5 separate regions of the Homo sapiens genome follow, and all the other regions are linked to region 3. The links are contacts of gene promoters, found by promoter capture Hi-C in blood cells and fetal thymus (Javierre and others, 2016). All regions are on one chromosome and are shown on one strand. Each heading gives the region's core, a stretch centred on a gene start or on the middle of the fragment in contact. The rest is flanking DNA. Distances are from core to core; before and after follow the strand shown.

Region 1 (2,799 bases), core at 299-2,798, 630 kb before region 3:
AGCAATTTGAGAACCATAGTAATTATTTTAGGCAAAATGCATCAATAGATTTGAAAGCTGGAAGGTGAAAGTTGAGTAAAGAATGGGATGTTTACACAGTCTAGGGGTATCTCTCCAGGAAACACTTGTTGACTGCAAAGTAAAAAAAGGTAATTGGTGGTAACTGGGAGATACAGGGTTTCTTTTTGGAGTGATGAAGACATAGTAGAATTAGATCATGGTAATGGTTGCACAACATTATGAATTTACTAATAATCACTGAATTGTACACTTTCAAACAGTGAATTTTATGTTACATGAACTTATCTTTAAAAAAATAAAATTAATTTGACAAATCAGTTACATACTCTAGGCCTGGGGAAACAACAGTCAAGAGGTAGAGTTAGCAGAACCAAGTGGCTCAGAGGCGGACCCATTGACTGAGCTCAACCCCCTGGAGATGGGCATCGCCTGGCTGTTGCTAGTGCCTGCCAGGGGGAATGGGAGGCTGGTTCTGGGGCTACTGAAAGCTGGAGCCAACTATGCTGCTGGAGCAATACTGCTGCTGGAGAGACACTCCCAGAAAGTGCAAAGACCAGGAAGGAGGGTCCCTTTCCTTCCTCCCAACCTCCAGTCACACTCTAAGGCTTCTGCCGGCAGCATCTAAGGGGAAATGAACCAGATGGCTTACCATATCCAAGAGCAGAGTATAGAAAGGTGGGCTTGGATCCAAGAGACAATAGATAAATAACCAACACGCAGAGAACAATGGAGAATTAACAGCTCATACAATGAGGGGAGAGGATTCTTTTCTCATATAATTATTTTCTTCTCTAAAAGAGTGATTCGTTAGATCTTAAACTAAATGTTGCTTAATTTTAGAATAACTTCAGGAATATTTTTATAAATCAGAAAAAAATCTTATTCCTTTATATATGCTAATTCTACATCTGAAAACATTTTTCGGTTCTTACATTGCTCCCACCTCCTTGACCCTTAGGTATAATGGAGAGAATTCTGCATCCTAGTATGCATACGCATTCCCACCTGGGTGCCTTTGCTCTGGGTGCCTTCCCACCCAGAGGCCCTTCTTTCCTCTTCTCTGCCTGAGTTCTATTCTTCTTCCATCAATGAAGCCTTTTCTGTGCACATCAGTTAACAGTGACATTTTCTTTCCTGCTTCTGAGTCCTCATGGGACGAATTTCCAGGTTATGCTTGGACACACTGTCTTGAGTAACCAGCTAAGTTTTCATAGATGTGTGCTCATGTCTATTTATTACATGGATGGTTCCTGACATGCCCAGACAGTGTGAAGCCTCAATGAATATCCGTTCATGACTGAGCCTCTATGGACATTTGAGAACAGCTTTAAAGTGAATAACTGTATAATAATTTTATGGAAAATATTCAAATTTTCCAGGAAAAGGGATGATCGGATGACAAGAACACCTCTGTTTCTGTCCCCATTATTTCTACTAGTCATTCACTTTTGCATGAGCCAGAGTTGATACTCTTATTAAATGCTTGGTGTTTGGAAAAGTTTGTGAGGCCAACATTTGCCTTAGGTACTGGTCAGACAAAGCTGAACCTGATGAGAGAGAAGAGGTCATCAGATTGCACATACTTAAAAAGTAAAGAAACTCTAGGTAGTCTTGCCTCCCACCCAGGCTTAAAGAGTTGGCATCAAGGTGCTCAAATGGACCCAACACAGAGACTGGCGATGCTTTCAGGTTTGGTTCTGTTTGCTGCTCTTATAAACTCATTTTGTGTCCAAGTGGCTTGCTCTGTCAGATGAAACCTTGGAAAGGTAAAAAATCCTTCTCAAGTCAAATTTTCATCTTCCTTTGAAATCTCTGAACCCATTAACTCGGGACATTAACCAGCACTTTCATGTTACCCACCTGAGACCACCTCTTGTTCAGCATCAACCATCTTTTTTTTTTTTTTTTTTTTTTTTTTTTTTTTTTTTGTGAAAGAGCATGCTTTATTTGGAAGCAGAGTGCTGCACAGTGACCGACAGATGAAGGCCACCCATTGGGCACTCACACATCGTACTCCAAAATACACACAGGATGCTTTGCTAATAAAAATCAATGGGAACAGGGATTCCTCTGGGCAACTCCCCCAACCTCATCCCTTTCAGGGGTTGGGAAATCTCCCAACCATCTTCCTGATGGCAGCGGTGGTTCACTAGAGATAAAGCCCCTCAGGGATGCCTTCGTGTTTCTTATAAAGAACACTTTCTATAGATTTTTTGAAGTCTTCATTTGTTGCTTTCATTCTATGTTCTCTTAAGGCCATCAGACCAGCTTCTGTACAGATTGCCTTGATGTCAGCACCAGAGAAGTCATCTTTAGCCATGATCAAGTCGTCCAGGGTTACATCATTGGCCAGTGTCATCCTGCTTGTGTGAATCTGAAAGATGTGCTTCTTAGTCTTTTCATCAGGCAGGTGGAACTCGATCTTCTTGTCAATGCGGCCTGGTCTGATAAGTACTGGATCCAAAGTTTCTACTTGTTTTGTGGCCATGATAACTTTCACATCTTCCCTAGAATCAAATCCACCCAATTGGTTCAACAGTTCCAATTCCAACATTGTTTGCTGAATTTCTCTCTCACCACCAGAATTGGAGTCATATCTTTTTGTCCCAATGGCTTCAATTTCATCAGTAAACATGATGGATGGTGCATGTTCTTCAGCAACTTGAAATACTTGCCGTACGAGTTTGGGCCCATCACCTAGGTACTTCTGAATAAGTTCAGAGCCAACCACTCTCAAGAAAGTGGCTGAGGTTTGGTTTGCTACTGCTTTGGCTAACA
Region 2 (2,932 bases), core at 59-2,558, 620 kb before region 3:
GAAACCAGACTACAAGCTCCTATGGGATACATGTTACTCAAATAGAAAAAAAGATGGAAAAAAAGAGATAGATCAAAAGATAAATAAATGTCACTACTTGTCTTTTTTACATTTGGAAAAATTAAAAAAAAAATGTCAGGCTACATGAAAGATCCAAGTGATAGTGCACCCTATATCCAGCATTTTCTTTTTTTAAGAGATGGGGTTTCACTCTGTCACCCAGACTGGAGTACAGTGGTGCAGTCATAACTCACTGCAGCCTCAAACTCCTGGTCTCAAGTGATCTCCTGCCTCAGTCTCCCAAGTAGCTGGGACTGCAGGGATACACCACCATGCACAGCTATTTTTTCTTCTTTTTTGTAGAAACAGGGTCTTGCTGTGTTTCCCAGTTGGTCTCAAACTCCTGGCCTCAAGAGATTCTTATCATCCTCCCAAAGCATTAGGATTATGGGCATGAGCCACAGCGCCCAGCCCTAGCAATATTTTGAAAATCAAAAGCATTTCCAAAAATAAGGGATAAAAATGATAGAGGCAGAGTGGATGAATATTTTCTTTTGTGGAACCCAAGAGTTATGGCTAACATATAGAGTAATAAAAATAGTGACAATGAAATAATATTAGTTATTGTGAACTTGTGTCAATATATTTTAAGCGCATCCCCATCAGAGCCTTACAAAGCCCTACGAGGCAGGTACTCACCACCAGAGACTGGATAATTTCAGTTTCCAGTTGTGAGCCTTGTTAGCTTTGGTTTCAAGAGATATTCTACTTCCTCCCCAGAAACCCACGGGGAAGCTAACTGGGTAGGAGAGTTGTTCAAAGGTCTACCTTATAAACTGAAAATAATGCATGAAGTTGCAAGGTTTCTGTGTGGGATTTGGACTCAGTCCCATTTCATCTTGGGAAGCTTTCTTTGCCTGTAAGGGTTTCTCAGATGTCCACTTTTGTCTGAGTCTTGTGGCCATAAAACTGCCTTTACCAAAAGTTTATTTTAAGGGCTATGACTCGGGGACATAAAGAAATGTTTGAAGAAGGGAAAGGGGATAAAAGCATGCAAGATTCTGTATGGAATGGAACATTTGATACAGCCACCCCACTTCCTTTAGTTGAGCACATGGTGGGAGACCATTCAAAAAGCCAACAACTTGGGTAACAGCCCTTAAATTGACATTGTTTAGGCATGAATGGATCCAATTGGTTTTAAATGTTTTGTTCTCCACATAATTCCTATTTTAAGAAGATTGGTTACTATAGAGACTAGAGCTGCCTTTATTCTGGATGTTCAAGAGAGGACATGTTGACTAATGGTTAGAGCAGAGGTCTAAGGTCCAAGGTCCTAGTCCTAGCCCAACCACAGACTCACTGAGAGCTTGTCCATAACTCACTCCCCATGCTGCAATTCTTCCTTAGCTAATGAGGAGCAAAAAATATCTTTGATGTGGCCCTTTGGGCAGTGATATTTACATACTTTGTTATTGATGCTGGGTGAGATGGAAGAAATGGGGTGAGGGAGAGAGCAATTCTAACATAAAATGAATTTTAAGATATTGAAGTTGGAAGGTTATTGACCTGCTAAATAAGCTGGCAAATGGGAAGTAACTACTCATCACAGCATCACCTCTGGGACTGGGACTTGGCCAACAGTGGCTCAGAGTACTTTTTTGAAAAGTGTATGTTTGTGCATGCGTATGTGTACATGCATGCATGCCAAAGCTTAAGCTCCTAAGGGTAAGATATAAAGGCTGCAATTTACAAATCTATATAAATGATTTATCCCTAACCTTCAGAAAGAATTCTTTTATTCTCTAGCAGAGTGCATGAGTTTTAGTTTTTTAAAACAATTTTTTATTATGAAGAATTTTCAGACACAAAGTTGAGATGCTAATAGTGTAAATAACTCCAATATATCTGTTACCCAGCTTCAACAGTGAACATTCTGTCATTCCTGTTTCATTTCTCTCATTTTAAAACATTTCTTTTCTGAATCATGTGCAAATCCCAGATGACATATTGTTTTACTTGCCAATACTTCGGTATGCATCTTTAACAGATAAAGCCTTCTTTCCATAACCACAATGTACCATTATCACACTCAACAGAATTAACAACTTGTTAATTCCTAATATTTATCTAATACCTAATGCATGTTCAGTTTTCTCAGATTGCCTCAAAAATATTGGTTTTTAATAGTTGGTTTATTGTAATTAGGATTCACATATGGCCCACATATTACATTTGTTTGATATGTTTGTTAAGTATTTTTAGTCTATAATAATTCCCTTTTCTCTCTTACCCTATTTTATCTGGAAACATGTCAAACATTTTTGGAAAAGCTGTTAGGCAAATGCAATGAACTCCCACTTGCCTTCACATTTTACACATTTTCTTATAGTTCCTCTCTCTACGTGTGTGTTGGGGGTGAGCTTATTATTGTCATCATCAACATTATTTTGCTGAACCATTTGAGAGCTTTCAAGTTTGTTGCAGACATTGTGGTATTTTATGCTTAACCATTCGTGTGCATTTCCCCTATGAACAAGGGCATTCAAATACAAAGTCATATTATAAATAATTGTAAATATGGCACTGAGAAAATTTAAGGATTATGTTTAACTAAGGATATTATTATTCATTTTATATTCAAATGTTCCCAGTTGTCTTTCATAGCTTTTCAAAAATGTCCTTTATAGCTTTTTAAAAAAAATCTAGGCACAAATGTAGAATCAAATATTGTATTTATCAAGTCTCTTTAGATTTCTTTAATCTACAATACTCCCTAGCTGTTTTTATCTTTTATGAAATCAACATTTTTAAAGCATCTGGGCCAGTTACTGGGCAAAATAATCCTCAGTTGGATTTGTCTGACTGTTTCTTTTTTAGTTCTTTTTTAAAATTTGTAAAAATTATACTTTAAGTTCTAGGGTACATGTGC
Region 3 (2,751 bases), core at 252-2,751:
TCACTCTGTCACCCAGGCTGGAGTGCAGTGGCGGATCTCGGCTCCCTGCAACCTCCGTCTCTCAGGTTCAAGCGATTCTTCTGCCTCAGCCTCCTGAGTAGCTGGGACTACAGGCACGTGCCACCAACGCTCGGCTAATTTTTGTATTTGTTCTTTTTTAGTAAAGACGGGGTTTCGCCATGTTGGCCAGATTGGTCCCGAACTCCTGACCTCAGGGGATCCACCCGCCTCGGCCTCCCAAAGTGCTGGGATTACAGGCGTGAGCCACTGCGCCCGGCCTTGGCTGAGTTTTTATTAGATCTGAGCCGTTCAATTTCAATAGTTTAGGATCCAACCTCACTCTCAGGCAAAGAATAGAGGAAATGATACCAACGTATTTATCTGTCAATAAACACTTGGTGATTTGAATATGGTTAAGGGATTCCTGTAGTTTGCCCCCCTTAAAACTGAACTTTGTCCAAACCTGTTCTAAATATGTGTGTGCGTGTGCATGCATCTGGGTGTTGGGGAGGAGCGGTCGTAAAGTTCCTTTTAAATTTCACCTATGGGGGACTACTTCCCACCTCATCCTATGAAGTCAACATTAGCCTAAATACCAAAGCCAGATTAAGACACTACAAGAAAACTACGAAACAATATCTCTCACGAACACAGATGCAGAACTTCTAGACAAAACGTTTCCAAATTGAAGCGAAGACCATATTAAAAGGACAAAAGCACCTCAGTGGTTGCTTGGGGACTGGGGGAGGGGCTGGATTACTATCTTGGCTGTGGTGTCGAAAACCTATCAAATTGTTCACTTTAAATATGTGCAGTTTATTGTATCCCAACCATTCCTCAACAAAGCTGTTTTTCAGAAACATTTGTCCATGTAGTTTTGCCTTTGAATGGTTGGGTCAATGAAGAGAAAAACGAGTGAAAACAGGGAATCATGACACTTTGTTTTTTTACGTGTAAATATTCGCAAAACGCCCAAACTGGTAACTTTGGGAACACGGGTTCACGCAGAAGAAGGGCTGCTGTCTGGGGAGGACTGAAACTCGGGTTCCCGAAGTCGGGCTGCTCTGGGGCCACGGAGAGAAGGGGAGAGAACGTCGAGGAAGAGGCAGAGCTCAAGTGGACGGAGGATGGAACACAGAGCGCGGCCGGGACAAAGGGGCAGGCCAGACAGCCGTGACAGAGAAACTAGGCGGTCCGCTCCTGGGACGCGGTCTCGGGGGCGGGTTCGCCCCTGAGGCCCGGTGACCCTTCGCCCGCAACCAGGGCTAGCGCTTGTGTGCGCCCACGGAAGCACCCGAGCGACCGGAGAAAGAAAAAGTGGTCAAGGGGACCTCCTTCCAGCTCTACGCGCCTCTCATTCAGAGAGGTGAGGTCAGGAAAGGGGAAGGACGAAGCCCCAGAGCAACAGAAGTCAGGCGGTGCCAGGAACACTGAGAGCGGAGCCAGGGGAAGGCGGCCGAGCGCGGCCCCCTCTCCTCCCGGGCCGGGGCGGGCCCGAGGCCTCGATCCGCCTTCCCCGCGCCGTCCTGGTCACGGCCCCGCGGGGCAGCCATGCCTGGCCGTCTGCTGCGGGGCCTGTGGCAGCGATGGCGCCGTTACAAGTACCGCTTCGTTCCCTGGATCGCACTGAACCTAAGCCACAACCCGAGGTGAGAGGGCGGGACGGCAGAACGAGGGGCACCTGCCTTCGGTTCCCAGACGCCACCACGGCGGCGGGACGCAAAGCGGAGAGCCTGAGGCTGACTGCCGGCCTGAGATGGGCGGGCCCGGGTGGGCAGGGACTGAGGTGGGCGGGCCGGGTGGGCGGGGACTGAGGCCTCGGAGGGGTTTAAGGAACGCGGGCCAGAGGCGGGCGGGGCCGAGGTTGGTGGAGTCCGAGGCCCGCTGGAAGCCTGAAGTGGGCGGTGGCTTCAGGTGGGCGGGGCCTATGGCCTCTTTCCCAGTGTCCGCTGCGCTGCCGGGCCCGCGAGGCCGAGCTCGCCAGCCGGATGTGTCGCCTGTTCTTCCCTGTTGCGTTCGGCACTGACTGGGGAGCTTGTATCTGGGCAAAAATGGAAACTTTTTAAAAAGACTGCCCTTACCGCGTGAGAGTGCGTGGCTTTTTCTCCACCAGGGGTTAATTAGGTGCTTGAACTTCCTCAGAAAAGCCAAGCCAGGGTTTATTTTCATAGTTCATACAAGTACTTCACGTGGTTAAAGAAGCCCATCCCGGCTGTGAGAATAGCGTGCAGTAGCTCGCGCGTTAAGAACGGGCAGAACGCCACTCAAAAGCACGTCGGGATGGTGGGTTTCGGATTGGGGTGAGTCCCGCCGGCGTTATTAAGGGCGCACCAGTGATCAGCTCAACACCGTGCTCACCAAAGAGGCCGACCGGGCCTCCCTGAAGTCAGTGTCCGACAAATAGGGAAACAAAGCGGTTTCCGGAAGGTTGCATGCTAGGGAAACAGGAGATCAGTTGTATCATGACTCGGAACCGTGAGGCGGGAATTACAACCTTTTTGTTCAAGTAAAAATAATGCAGTTAGTACAAAAAGATAATGATTATGGAAATAAGAGGTGCAGTCATTGAAGACGTTAGTCGTCCTGGAGGGAGTGTCACAAAGTATACGATGTTGAATTTGTCTTTGAAACTACAAGGCCATTTTTAAAAAGCCATTGAATGTGAGGTCATTCATTCTCATTGTGATGACATTCAGCTTGGCTGTTGGGTGTAGTACGGGAAAGAGCTGAACTTCGTTTCTGCCTCTGGCT
Region 4 (2,961 bases), core at 149-2,648, 660 kb before region 3:
TATTTCCTTTCCAGACCACCCAATCTCTGCTTGATCCAATGTAATCTGGCTTTAGCTCCCTAGCTGCTGAGGGCAAGTACTACTGTGCAGATGCTCTGATGGACAACTGTTCTGATGGAAGTTAGGATCCAGGTCACCTAGGGCCACACTGAAGTTTTTAATGGTTGGAGGAATTGATTGACAGCACCTGCTGTGAAAAACATACAGACTTAAATAATATTTCCTGCAAATCTCAGGGTTCCCAATATCTAAGCATTCACTGTTATTTTGGCGGTGGGAATGGGGCCTTGGCACTTTAGCCCAGGTGGTATAGAATGGTGGGAAGAATCGTGAACTTGGTGTCACAAGAAGTGGGCTCAAGTTCTCATTCTTCTTTGCACATGTTAGATGCTCAATCAACACTCGTTTAACTGAAATAATTATTTGCCCAGCAAACCACCCAGGACTCTTGCCTACTTAGTTTTATGCTAATGCATCTGCTATCCAGGTTGGGTCAAACACTGAGAGAGCCTAAATGGAGGTTAGGCATCTGGGCCTATAACCTAGGTGTCCACAGGCAGGAGTTAGTAAGCCCAGGGGCTTGGAAAGGGGTTTCTCTCTGAAGGGAGATTGAGACAGGGAGATGCAGGGTTGATGATGTTGGCTGCTGGACCCAGATCTGACCCTTTAGACAGAGAAGTGGGGCTCAAGCAAAATCCTCTCCTGCTTTAAGCCAGCTTGGTATTTCTCTGGTATCATCTATCTAGCTTTTCTCTATCTAGTTCTGCCTCCAGTTTCTTTTTTATTTCAAGATAATTTTAACCTCTGAATTCCTCTTGTTATGTGTCTTGAGAAAAAGTCCCAATATTCAGAGAGTCATAAACTATATTAGAGCAAGAAGTTATCTTAATCATCTTCAGTTTACACAGAGACCTAGAGAGCTGCTAATTAACCCAATCATCATCAGAGAAAGTAATTTTCTTTTATTTGTAAGAAGAAAATTAAGGAGGTTTGAATTATCATTTGGCTGGTTAAGGCGACACTCCCATTGCATGAATGCAGTGTCAACAATTTAATGACATCAAGAGATGGGAGGTTTCCTTTACACGCTCTCCCAAAGGATGTTTTCACATGTGGTTCTTTCAGATAACAGTTTTGAAATGTTGAGTGACACCCAGCACATTTTCTATTTGATTTCACAATCTTTTTGTAAGACAGAATTAAAAAAAAATCTATTTCCTTCCCGCTGGAAATAGAGCAAGCAGATTTACATTAAGCTTATGAAGCAGAAAATTAAAATTTTTGCAAAACCATGGTATGTATTATTTGGTCTACATTATGCTAAACAATTGGTTTTAGTCACTTTGGGCCCCTAAAAGTGACCATTTTTTGGTATGTTATAGACCCAGCCTGTATGTTTCTTGGTGAAATGGTGACTGAATCTTTCTTTGGCCTAATATGTCCTATTTGCCTGTGAGAGATCTGATGTATGAGTTATACGTGTAGCAATATGGCAGCCTTTAGGCAAGTTTAGATGAAATATTTCAGCTATGTGTAGGATTTAAGCTTCCAGGAGTTTATATTCTGACATTTCCCTCTTTCTCCCTCAGGGAAAGAAATTCTATTAAAATCCAAATTGAAAAATGGAGAAAAAAATGAGATCTCAATTTGCAGCAGGAAATTTTTGGCATGACTAGGCTTAGGGAGACAAAAGACAAGTTTGAAGAGCTAAATCTGAATTAATCTCTACATCTCTAATCAAACAGGTTTATGCTTTCCTTCATCCAGTTAAACAAACAAACTAAAATTCTATGGGCATACCTACACACATAATTGTTCTTTTGTTATAATATTTTCTCTGTTATAATTCAAGATAAAAATAACATACTAGGAAAGGTTTTGGCTATTTGCTCGATAAACTAAGATATGTCAGAAGTGATTTTCAACATCAGGCTATTAATAATATTTGATGGGAATAAAGGTTGTTATGGTGATCTCTGAATTCCTTTTTGTCAGTGATAAAGTCTACACCAGGATATCAGCCTGTTTAAATGCTTGAAGAAATGTTCGTGTAGTTCTGTCTGCATGCAATGGGCTCCTGTGTATGAAATTTCATGGCTACCATGCACAAATAGGAATCCAAATCAGAATTCTTATTTTTCTCTTAGTAAAAAACCCAACAGCTGAGTTAGAATGGTGTATTAGAACAACTCATCCATCAGCCATTGATTAAGAAGTAGGTATTGAACACTCATTAAGTGCCTGGCCCGATGCTGAGTGTCATTATTTGTTATTCCAAAATGCTTCATAAATGAGCAGCCCAGCTCAGATCTGATGCACTCTCAATTCCCCAAACCTTTGCCAAAATTGTTTTTGGCTGGAACAAAGATAAACATGTAGAATCTCTTTTTCTCTGACAGGAATAGCTGACTATATAGTATACTTCTCGTTTTTCAAAATCCAATTCTCAATATATATGGCTAATTAAAAAAATACACCAACAGTGAGATAAAATAAATAGTAAGCTATACACTTGGGAAACTATTTGCCACAAATATGCCAAAGAATTAATATCTTTCATATTTAAATATAATATGTTTCAATAAGAAAAACATCAACATAACAGAAAAATAGGTACAAGTGAATAGTTTATAGAGAAGGAAAAATAAGTCATCAATAAGGAAATGAAAAGATGCATTTTTTTTAGTCTAGTACATGGTAGCTATTCAATAAGTATTTATTGAATAAATGAAGAAATTCATTACTAAAGAAAAAGGGTTCAATATTGGTAGCAATAAAACATTAAAATTTCAAACAATAATTATATTTTGCCTCTCAAACTAGCCTATATTAGTATATCAGTCTGAGTCTAATGAGGAGATAGAAACCAAGCAGTAGATTGAATAAGGAAGTTTAATATAAATAACTATTAACTATCATAAAAGAGTAACTATAAGAGATAAGGAAACTCTCTGTGATGCC
Region 5 (2,898 bases), core at 152-2,651, 580 kb before region 3:
GTTCTTTCCGAGGGCTGCTATCCATGGGGCTCTATCTGCATAACAAGATAGCCTTTGCTCACCATGCCTTTTCTCCCCTCTTCCTCCAATAACTTGTCTTGCCATGCCCCAAGCCTCTATTCCTTGCTGTATGGTATATAACCTTCAGCCATCTGGCTTTCCATTGAGTCTCATACTTTGTGTGTGGCTTCTGTGTCCATATGCACATTAATAAAATTTGTACACTTTTTTTTCCCTGTGAATCTGCCTATTGTTAGTTTGTTTTATAGACTCAAATTATTTAAACTTCAGAAGCAAGAGCGAAGGAAATTCTCTTCATCCCTACCCAGGCAAGCTGAGATGGTTGACATCACTGTTTGCACAATCACTAAGTCCAGGTTAGGAAAGAGAAGCAATGCCATACGGTGATTGAAACCCAAATTCTAAAGCTAGACTCACCTAGGTTTGAACCGTGACTTGTCAATTAGATGATGACCTCAGGCAAGCTTCAGTTTCTTTATGTGTAAGAAGGGAGAAATAATGTTGTATGCCTTAAACAGTTGTTGTGAAGATGAAATTAGCTAATATTTGTAAAGCACTTAGCACAAAACATTGTTCATAGTAAAAGATCAATTATGGTTAGCTTTTAAATTGATGTAAGAGTCTTTAGAAATGGATAAAATGATAGATATACTTTTCTCCCTTTTTTCTTTCCTTCCTTTTTCTCTTTCCTTCTCTTTGTTCTTTTTTCTTTTTAAAATGCAGGTGTAAATATAGAAGGGAGATGTGTTTCTGAAGGTCTAGCAATTGCTAGAGCACTAAAATACCTCTTTTTTTTTTTTTTTAACCAGCGCTCATTACTGTCTGTCAACTCTAAATGCCACCCAGACATTTCTAGGTAGTGCAATTTTGCCCTGCCAAGTGAAAGCATTTCATGACGCTCAATCATTAGGCAGCTATTTAAAACAATTTTCTTTCAGAGCTTCTCCTTCCCTTGGGCATTCATGCTGAAGACTCTGTCAAAGTGCCTATTTCCTGGAATCTGGCTATAGCAGACTTCCCAGAGGTTGGTACACCAGACTAATCATTTTTCTAAGGCAGCACTGGAGCCCTCAGGATACCAGTTGAATCTGATCCACATGGTAGCTCTGGGAACACAAAATGCTAATGATGTGGAACTTAGGCCACTGGTATTTATTCTATTGTTGTTTGCTTATTTATTTATTATCCGTGCAGGCCAACCAAAAGATAAATTTGGGACCAACCTCAAACAAGGTAATTGGAGTGTTCATTCAGTAGTCTTAGCTTACTTGTACTGGCCATCTTTATGTCTTTAGTGAGTCCATATTAGAAATGACGGTGTCTTTTTAGAAGGATGAACTAAGCAGAAATGTAGAAAAATCAGAATTTTTGAGATTCAACTTTGAAGACAACCTCCTCCAATTCCTTGGAGAGTATTTTGCTCATTTAATACTTGGTTACATTGTAACATTTTGCAACCCACCAGGAAATCACTCTAACAGTAACTGCTCGTCAAACAGTGACAAGAGGATTTGGGGAAGGCAAACAGCTGCAGATTCAGATGTGGGAGGGAGGTGGGCAGATGATGGGGGAATGAATCTTGAGTGTCCACATGCCAGGGAGAGGCTCAGCCAGGAATGACACTCCAGGGTGACTGACAGTCAATGAAACTTGCCATTCTAATCAGCAATAAAAAGGAATGAGCTGTTGCTATACACACAACAGGGATGGATATTAAAATAAATGTGCTGAGAGAAAGAAGCCAGACCAAAAAAAAAAAATAGTGCCTACTGCCTTTCATTTATATACAATGCTAGAAAATGGAAACTATTTCACTGTGACAGAAAGCAGATTAGTAGTTGTCTGTGACTGCACTGCCACCATTCAACCTGTTTCTTAGGTCAGTAATTTGGCATCACCTTGAATCTTCCTTCTCGCTCTCGCTCCTGGTGCCCATTGACTCAGTAGACAGGCCCTAAAGAGTCTACCTTGTAAATTTTGTTCATAATCACCCTTTTCTCACTGTTTTCATGGTCACTTTCTTAGGTCCAATCTTCATACATCTTTTCTATTTCTTATTTGTAGTAGTCTCTAAATGGTTTCCTTCCCTCTATTTCCTGCCTATTCTAATTTATCCTTCATACTGTTTTCTGAATAACCATAAAATATTTTCTATCTTTAAATATAAAAAACAAAATTATAAAATATTTAAAAAATCATTTAAAATGTGCATAGAATTACAAACACTTCAGTGCCTATAACCCAAGATTAAGGACTGTTCACATTTTGGAATTTGTCTTTTGTGTATTATTATAAAAGAAGCTTCTCTTTTAATGGAACCATCTTTGCTCTACTTCCCATCTTCTATGCCATGGGTGCTCCCCAGTTTCCAACACTGTCATATATTTGTATATATCTATTTAGCTCATGTTGCGTACTTCTAATAAATATATGTATTCCTGTTTAAAAATTAAATAAATGATATAATATTGTATATGTCATTCTGCAACTTGCTTTATGACAAGTGTTTGATAACTATGTGTGCTGATATAGATGAAGATGAAATTGACTCTATACTGCTATATAATATTCTTATTACATTATACATTATGCATTATCTTGTGGGTGGGGCATTTGTGCTGTTTCTAGTTTTTTGCTGTTAATAGAATTTAAAAAATAAATATCCTTGTGTATGTCCCTGTAGTGAACTGAATGATGGCCTCAAAGATATGTTCATGTCTAATGCCTAAAATCTGTGAATATCACCTTGTATGGTGAAAGATGTTATTAAGTTAAATATCTTAAGAGGAGGAGCTTAGTCTGAATTATCTGGGTGGGCTCTAAATACAATCACATGTGAGAAAGAGAGGCAGAGGGAAGTTCAATACCACACATACA

What was found. The method cuts DNA at HindIII sites, captures the fragments that hold promoters and counts their contacts. A CHiCAGO score of 5 or more calls a contact.
Region 1: a contact is called between a fragment that was not itself captured here and the fragment with the promoter of SETD9 in region 3, in 14 of 17 cell types (neutrophils, naive CD8 T cells, non-activated CD4 T cells and 11 more). The highest score is 15.1, in neutrophils.
Region 2: a contact is called between a fragment that was not itself captured here and the fragment with the promoter of SETD9 in region 3, in 5 of 17 cell types (neutrophils, non-activated CD4 T cells, naive B cells and 2 more). The highest score is 10.1, in neutrophils.
Region 4: a contact is called between a fragment that was not itself captured here and the fragment with the promoter of SETD9 in region 3, in 5 of 17 cell types (total B cells, naive B cells, erythroblasts and 2 more). The highest score is 9.7, in total B cells.
Region 5: a fragment that was not itself captured here is called in contact with the fragment with the promoter of SETD9 in region 3 in 1 of 17 cell types (fetal thymus); the score reaches 5.0 in fetal thymus.

The regions. Positions count from the first base shown.
Region 1 is chr5:56,273,129-56,275,927 of GRCh38, forward strand. It overlaps the pseudogene PSMC1P4. Among named protein-coding and RNA genes, the nearest start is that of ANKRD55, 41 kb to the left of the region's middle. The HindIII fragment of the contact is 5,403 bases long and covers 1-2,799 here.
Region 2 is chr5:56,289,840-56,292,771 of GRCh38, forward strand. No RefSeq gene overlaps it. Among named protein-coding and RNA genes, the nearest start is that of ANKRD55, 58 kb to the left of the region's middle. The HindIII fragment of the contact is 806 bases long and covers 906-1,711 here.
Region 3 is chr5:56,908,095-56,910,845 of GRCh38, forward strand. It overlaps SETD9 (SET domain containing 9), which reads left to right and starts at 1,502. Exons shown (of 6, transcript NM_153706.4): 1 at 1,502-1,649. The coding sequence starts at 1,552. RefSeq lists enhancers at 1,138-1,227, 2,018-2,067, 2,163-2,751 and silencers at 1,378-1,587, 1,768-1,977. The HindIII fragment of the contact is 6,770 bases long and covers 1-2,751 here.
Region 4 is chr5:56,250,985-56,253,945 of GRCh38, forward strand. No RefSeq gene overlaps it. Among named protein-coding and RNA genes, the nearest start is that of ANKRD55, 19 kb to the left of the region's middle. The HindIII fragment of the contact is 289 bases long and covers 1,255-1,543 here.
Region 5 is chr5:56,329,412-56,332,309 of GRCh38, forward strand. The region is part of intron 2 of LOC105378977 (a long non-coding RNA gene); the gene reads left to right. Among named protein-coding and RNA genes, the nearest start is that of ANKRD55, 98 kb to the left of the region's middle. The HindIII fragment of the contact is 1,837 bases long and covers 484-2,320 here.